Regions from separate parts of the Homo sapiens genome. Here region 1 is linked to region 2. Evidence: promoter capture Hi-C in human tissues and cell types (Jung and others, 2019). All regions are on one chromosome and are shown on one strand. The core of a region is centred on a gene start or on the middle of the fragment in contact, and the rest is flanking DNA. Distances in the headings are between cores, read along the strand shown.

Region 1 (4,063 bases), core at 1,473-3,972, 380 kb after region 2:
TTCAGTGGCTAGATACATGCAGTTTCCTGAATTTTACCTCATGCTCCTACATACCCACAACTGTCATATTAGTGATGCTGTTATTTCTCCATTCTCTTCCAGTCTTTCCTTTTCCAGTTTCCCACACATTGGTGTATGCTCTAATTCCTGTGGTAAACCTCCTTTTCACATGATATTTGTAGTGGCTTTGTTTTTCTGACCGAATCTTGGCTAATACAGTTTTTGGTAATAGAAGTGAATTAGAGTAGAAGCAATAGAATTTTAAGGATGAGAATCCTACTAGATTTAAAGGCATTAGTGACCTCATTGCCATGGTAAATAAAACACAAGTAGTCCATGGCATGCAATAACTAAACAGGTAGCTATGGTCTGGAGAAGATAACTTTAAGTGATCAAGTAGTTGCTGCAATAAACATTATTGTGGGAATAAAGAATAAAGGCTTTTGCATTGATTTGATTTCTACTAAGTGTACTGGAGGATACGGAAGAAGGAAAAGATGAGTTCATGGCTTTAAATCCTAATCCACAACCTGGGTAGGGATCCAGGAAACTTCTATAATTGTCCTGGAAAACACAGACACAGAGAAATATCTCCTGTAGCTGCAGGGTTAAAATTTCTGAAAACCAAGCTTGAAGTCTGATCCTGTGGGCGGCTGAACTTACAAATGCAGCATTGTGGATGCATCTCAAAAACATGATGGAGAGCAAAACTTCCAGATACAAAAAGGATATACGGTCTAATTGCATTTTTGAAAAGATGAAAAAATTAAAACTAACCTTACAAGTTTTGATGGCATAACTATTAAAAAAATAAAAACAAGGGATTACCATAGATGTTAGGAGAGGAATTATGAAAGTGGAGAAGTGAATAATAATTGGGAGAGGACCAGAGGGGACCGTTTCCATGCTGGCCATACTCTCTTCCTTGGATTGACTAAGGTAACAAGGGGGATCGCTTTGTGATAGTTTTTTGAGCTGTACACTTATATTCTGGAACTATCTATATATGTATTATTTCTCAAAACCAAAAGGATTAAAAGGAACCCTGAAGTGCTTGCCATCTAACTGGGAAACAAAAGACAAGATTCTTAAATGGCTGACAAGTCTCTAAATAATCTGGCCTCCTACTAATGGTTTGATGTCTCAATTTTTCTTCTTGTCTCCCTTTGCTCCTGCATCTACACATATAGAGTTGAACGTGATCGGAGAAAACCCAACACTCATGCTGTCTGGTATCACTTGAGATTCATAACTACCAAACCTAAAAGGGAGCCTTAAAGCTGCAATATTTTTTTCCTAGTCCATTCACTTGTCACTCACCAAGGTGACAATTTCATAACTCTCCTCTACAACCTTCAAGCCTTCTGTTCCCTGATTTCACTATCCCTCCTCAGTAGCAGTTTTGTTTTCCTCTTTGTACTGAGAAAATGGAAACAGTTTTATTGGGTGGACATAGAGCTGTATCATCCACATCCCTCTTCACAAAAAGAGCCTTATACCCCAGCTGCTGGGGTTAGCAGATATCTTCCAGCATTCAGCAACTATAAAGTCCATCTCACTTATGGAGAGCCCTAAGTGCACCTTTCTAGGGGGAGCCCAAATCCAATGTCCATTTCCAGAAGGAGTGGTTGAGGGCAGCATAAAGGCTGGAGGAACAAATCCAGAGCTCTCTTTGGGTTGGTTAAGCTTTGCCAAGCATGTACTGCAGTTTGAATTTCTCCTCCATCCATGTGTTTCCTCTCTCTCCCTTCCCTAAGTGTTGATCCCTAACACATGTTCAGTATTCCAATTTCCATCTCAGTATTTGCTTCCAGTGAATCCAACCTGTGATAGCTCAAATACATTCAGATTTCCATCACCATGTTCACCTACCAACCTACTTTTTTCCTCAATATTCTATGACTGCCTTCTTTACAGAGTACTTTTACTTAAAGCTAATCACTTTATTTGTGTACTGTCTTTGCTTACTGAGAGAGAGAACTCTAGCAATTTTTCTCCCCCCCCAATCATTTTTTCCATTTTGTAAAATCGCTATTATCTCTCTCATCTTATTTTTTTTATCCTTGCTTTGGCCCATTTCACCAGCTACTGAGCTGTTCTGCTTTCTTTTGCAAAATTATTAATAATCTCAGACTCCCAATTCCTCTTCTCCCATTTCCTCTGTAGCTTATTCTAATCAGGCTTCCCCCTCCATTAGTGGAAACTGCCCTTTTCAAAGTCATCAATGGCTTTTACAGTGCAAACTATGATGGTCTGACCTCAGTCTTCATCATACTTAACGTTTTTTGCGTGATTGATAAAATTTTCTACTCCTTAAAATGTTTCCCACTTGGCTTCCAGGACATCAAACTCTTTTACTTTTTTCTCCTCCTAGTTCACGGCTCACTCTCAGATGGGCCACCTAGTGCACAATTCGAAGAAATGCCATTTACCTAGAACAAAACACTAGCGGTGGCTCTACTTTCTCAGTCCCCTTTTCTAATTGATTCTCTTTTCCCTGTCTCTTAAGGTAGGAGGGTCACAGAGTTCATGCTTGATCCATTTATGTTTTTTATGTACACATTTCTCTTCCAGACACTTGGACTCAGAAATGCACAAACTCCCTGACATCTTTATTTAAATGACTAATAGGTATGTTAACGTCCAAAATGAATTCTAAATTCACCCCAAACTTGCGCCACTGGACATTTCTGCTCCCTCAGTTTATGACAACTCCATCCTTCCAGTTGATCAAGCTCATTCTATTTCATTTTATTTTGTGTTTCAAAACAAAATAGAAGAACAATAAGGATTGTATATTACTTTTACTTTATGCTCAGAGATGGGGAGGGAATAATGGTGGTTAAAGAATTAACCTGCTTTCCAATTTTCTAGGGATAGCACTCTGAATTTAAATGTTTCAAATGGGTTGACAACTACCAAAGACATTTTCCCACTACTTCCTCCCTCTCCTCTGGTATTCAATTACTTCCTAACTTGACTCATATTCACCTATTTTTTTAACACCAAATCAGTCCTTCAGCTTTGTATCTAGAAGTATATATTCAACACTTGTCACTTCTGAAAAAAACAAAAGGTAGTTATGCAATAGTTGAAGTTATGTCCAGAAATCTACAAAAAAGTTTTTTTGCGAGATATAAATTAGTAAGGAGTTTTCTGAGGAACCTTCAAAAAGCAATTTTTGGGGTTTACCTTTTTTAAAATGTTTCCGGTGTTTAATATGTGAAAAGGAATACAATTTCTAGTTATTATAGAGGGAGAAACAAAACTCAAGCAGCTCTATCTCAGTTTTGATGTAGGCCTTAATCCATTTTTAAAAAATATAAATAAATCCCTAGAGATTACAGTTCCAGGTTCCTAAGACTAAATATGTAAATAACTACGCTACAAAGTGCTAGAGCTCATCAATTTTGAGTTAAAAAAATCCATAGTAGAATTTAACTTGATGGAAACAAAAATAGGAAAACCAAAAACAAAACTGAAAGCTTAAAATCTGTCTCTAGTTCCTGTCCTCTTTCAGTGGAAATGTATTGAAGCAAATAAACATCACTTTTGCTTGACCTTAGATTTCCAGATCAGTAAGAGAATATGCAAAATTCATTTACAAGTTAACTTTCAAAGTTAAGATGATGATACAGTAGCTCCCCCTGAGCCTTGGGGGATATGTTCCAAGACCAGCGGATGCCTGAAATCACAAATAGTAGCGAACCCTATATATACCATGATTTTTCCTATACTTACATACCTATGATAAAGATTAATTTAGGAAATAGGCACAGTAAGAGATTAACAACAACTAATAATACAATAGGACAATTATAACAATATTTTGTAGTAACAGTTATGTGAATGTATTCTTTCTCTCTCAAAATATCTGATTTTACCTCACCTATTTTCAGACCATGGTTGACTGAAGGTAACTGAAACCACGAAAAGTGACAGCACAGATGAGGGGAGAGTACTGTATCCTCAAATGATGGTATGGCTGGTGATGGTAACAGCAAGTCTACCAGCCTAGTCAAGCATTCTTATCCATAGAAGAGTTGCCATGGGAACCTCATGG
Region 2 (3,803 bases), core at 618-3,117:
TTGAGTGGAATGGATTAATTTGAAAAGATTATTTATATATAACAGGTAAACTAAATTTTGATATAAAGATATGAACTTGCTAAGCTCCAGCAAAGATTTACAATAAGAGAACATTAATGAGCAAAGTAACAAGGATGAACAACTATAAGCTGTACACTGTTACTATTTATATAACTAAAGTTAATAACAATAACATTTACTAAGTGCCAGGCACTAGACTAAGCACTTTACATTTAATTTCCACAATTCTATGAGGTAGGTACTATTGTTATCCCAATTAAACAGATGGGAGGTTAAGTAATTTTGCCAAGATGGCAACTCAGGGAAAGACAGGTGCCCAACTCTGTCCTTTGGGACCACATTCTGAGCTGTACTGAAAGAGGATGCAGCAAAACCACTAATGAGGTTATATCAAAAAAAAATGACAGAGCCAGAAATGAGCCAATGAAAACAGGTTCATATGCCACTCTTTTGACTTCTATGCCAAAGCAACGTACTTCTACTATACAGCCTGATAAAAAGTGAAGCTCTGATAGTCAAGGACAACTACAGTCAAATACCAATCTATCTCCCCAATCACTCAAACACAATGAGATGTAATTGCTTTCATATTCCACTCTGAAAAGGGGAAAAAAACTAACACTATAAAGAGTTGGAAATCCCACAAGCAAAGTGACAAGCAAACACTGAATTTACACAAATGTGTACAATCTAAAGTACAAAATATGCGTCAGCAGTGGATCAAAATAAAGCACAAAAAACTCGCGAAACAACGAAAGAACCAGACTGTAAGACAAAAATGGCATACAATGAAAAGAGAAAAAAATGAAAAGAAACAAAGAGGCCACATTGTGGACACAATATCGTAACTTCTGACCAGATTATAAACTTTTAAAATTTTGCTTTTATTAAAAATTAATTGAAAAAAATTTATAAAGCATGTTTCTATGCAAGAATTACTCTCAAGAACACAACGATTACGTAAAAAATAGGCAAGAAACAACATACTGTTTCAAAATACAAATATATGTAGTAACTATAAAGAAAAGTAGTGAAATTATAAATACAAAACTTAGATAATGTTTGCTTCTTAAGGTTTCCTGAAAGTTCAAAGAAGGTAACACAGGGCTTTCAAAGGCTATGTTTTATTTCTTAAAACTACAAAATGGGTAAACGAGAATTCCTGAAACTGTTCATCTTTACACTTGAAATGTGCTTTAGTAACACTCTTTTGTATCTACTCAGTTTTTAATAAAAACAACAAAACTGCTTCAGTGCCCTGGAGCGAATGGGGGCGTAACGGCAGGATTCAGGGCACTAACGAGAGGTGAACGGACGCCGAGGAAGAGGCGACTAAGCCCACATACTGAGTCTACCCAGGCCAGAGAGGCAGAGGTGTGTAGGGCCAGCGATCTCAGAAGTTTTGCCAAACTCCTCGATGCGTTACAATGGAAAGGTGCCGGGTTTCCCCCAGGAAGTAGTGACTAGCGAGAAGTTAGGCACAAGGCAAAGAGGAGCAAGGCGACGTGTGAGCACTTCAGCACTCGGACGCGGAACTCTAAGGTCCAGGCGTTGGGCCTGGGACTCGCCTCCCAGAGGCTTCGCCCCGCACCCCGCACACTCCCTGAAAATAAACACTTTGCATCCTCCCCTCTCCTAGGTTCCCGAAACCGCACCCTCCCTCTCTGCCTGCTCAACAAGAGCCTTCCGGGGAACCAACCGAGCGGTTCGGGGGAGCAGGAGGGGGCCCACCATGGTGACGTCCTCGTGGCCACGGAGCAGCTCCGCACTCTAGACCCAGGTAATCTCACCAACCGCAGGAGCAGCAGCTCACAAGAGCACCCGGGCCGAATCCCACGTGGCGCCTGAGAAGCCCGCGCCGACCCAACCGGAACAGGAGAGGCGAGTGCGTTTCTCTAAAGCGTCCCCGTTAACTGAGACCGCGTCTTTTTCGCCCGTGTTGGGCTTTTAAGCTCTAGCCCAACGGACAGCCAGACCTGCGTGCTCGCCGGGAGCGGCGGAAGGGAGCTTGCGGCGGGAGGCTGAACTCTGCCTGGTGCTGAGTGCGAGGCTGGGGATTGGAGCCCGGGTGGAGACGCTACACGCTTCCGGCCCCAAGAGCGGAGCTTGCCCATCTGTCCCAGAGCACGACTCCAGAGCGCAGCAACCTCTTCAGACAAGAGGTTCCCTCTTGCGGGCTCCCGCATCTCAGGGGCTGGGACCCTCTCAAAAGGGCCGCTCGGTGTTGGCTCCCCGGAGCTCTTGCACGGCACAGGCTCCTGCCCTCCGCTTTTCCACGTACTAGATTACCTTGGGCAAGTCCTTTCCTGCACTGAGTCTTTTTTTGCCCTGCCCTGCCCTGCCCTGCCCTGCCCCGCCCCGCCCCTCTTCTCTTTCCTTTCTTTTCTTTTCTTCTTTCCCTCTTTCCCGCCTTCCCTCATTCCCTCTTTCTTTCTTCCTCCCGGGTTCAAGCGATTCTCCTGCCTCAGCCTCCCGAACAGCTGGAATTACAGGCCTCCGCCACCACGCCCGGCTAATTTTTTTTTTTTTTTTTTTTTTTTGTATTTTTAGTAGAGACGGGGTTTCGCCGTGTTGGCCAGGCTGGTCTCGAACTCCTGATCTCAGGTGATCCGTCCGCCTCGGCCTCCCAAAGTGCTGAGATTACAGGCCTGAGCCACCACGCCCGGCCGAGTCTTAGTTTCTTTATCCGGAAAGGCCACTTCCTCATATTCAAGGCCTCTGCCAACCCAGTTTTTGTTTTCTTCTCACAGCATGTGAGAGTCTTTGTTTCACCCATACATGTTAGAATTCCGTAGACAATGTAATCATTCAAAAACTATTTATTGAATGCCTACTGTGTGCCTGGTACTGGGGATACTCCAACAATATCCCTCACTCAGCTCATTTTCCAGGGGATGGAGGCATGTAAAAATATTATTTCAAATAATATAAGTACTCTAATAAAAATTAGCTGGCGGGGGCATGTAGAAAAGCTGTTTTACACATGGTGGTCTCTATAAAGTCCTCTTTTAGAAGTGATAATTGAGCAGAGACCGGAATTGTAAGAGAAAACTAGGCATGGGAAGAAGCTCCAGGCAGGGTGAAGCTGGTGTGCCTTGATATGTGTGTGCAGCTGTTAACAGTTGAGGGTAGTTGGCTAGGTCCTTGGCGTTTTGAACAAATAATTGGACAAAACACACAAATAAAGCAAGGCAGCGAAAGCAGAGATTTATTTTAAATGAAAGTACACTACTCCACTGCGTGGAAGCAGGCTGTGGCAAGCTGCTCAAAAGCACAGGTTGCAGAATTTTCTGGGGTTTAAATACCTTCTAGAGGTTTCCCATTGGTCTTCCACAAGTCTGATTGGTTGAGGAAGGGGACCAATCTGAGGCACTTTCATTTTTCAACTGCCACACAGAAAAAGAAGGGCTTGCAACTGCCAGGCAGCAACTGCCATGCAGAAAAAGGAGGGGTTGAAGGGGAGTAGTCTTTCAACTGATATCCCATCAGCACAAATCAGTCCTAGCTTCCCTGCTTCCAGACCCTATTCTCCTGCCGCACAAATACTTGTATTTAATCGACAGATATATCAATTTTTGGAAATAATTTAAATTGTAAACAAGAGTGTGTCCAGAAGATTCCTGAATCTAGGGGCAAGGTATTTTCACATGGCTTTTTTTGTGTGTGAATCTATGCAATGAAGGTCACCTTTGAATATATACTGTGGAGGCAGCACATTCATGCATCACTTAAGGACGGGGATACTTTCTGAGAAATATTTCAATGGGGGTTTTGTTGTTTGT

The links. Contacts are between HindIII fragments. The study calls those that stand out against the background at their distance.
Region 1: a fragment that was not itself captured here is called in contact with the fragment with the promoter of TMA16 in region 2 in 1 of the 25 tissues and cell types used here (mesenchymal stem cells).

The regions. Positions count from the first base shown.
Region 1 is chr4:163,110,127-163,114,189 of GRCh38, reverse strand. LOC101928081 (a long non-coding RNA gene) reads right to left here and starts at 3,975. Exons shown (of 3, transcript XR_244745.4): 1 at 3,890-3,975. It also overlaps a transcript of NAF1 not described here. The HindIII fragment of the contact is 3,127 bases long and covers 1,159-4,063 here.
Region 2 is chr4:163,492,754-163,496,556 of GRCh38, reverse strand. TMA16 (translation machinery associated 16 homolog) reads right to left here and starts at 1,867. Exons shown (of 7, transcript NM_018352.3): 1 at 1,753-1,867. The coding sequence starts at 1,755. LOC124900805 (a long non-coding RNA gene) reads left to right here and starts at 1,333. Exons shown (of 2, transcript XR_007058354.1): 1 at 1,333-1,395; 2 at 1,661-3,803. RefSeq lists enhancers at 1,291-1,440, 1,471-1,610, 1,074-1,976 and a cis regulatory region at 3,258-3,529. The HindIII fragment of the contact is 18,907 bases long and covers 1-3,803 here.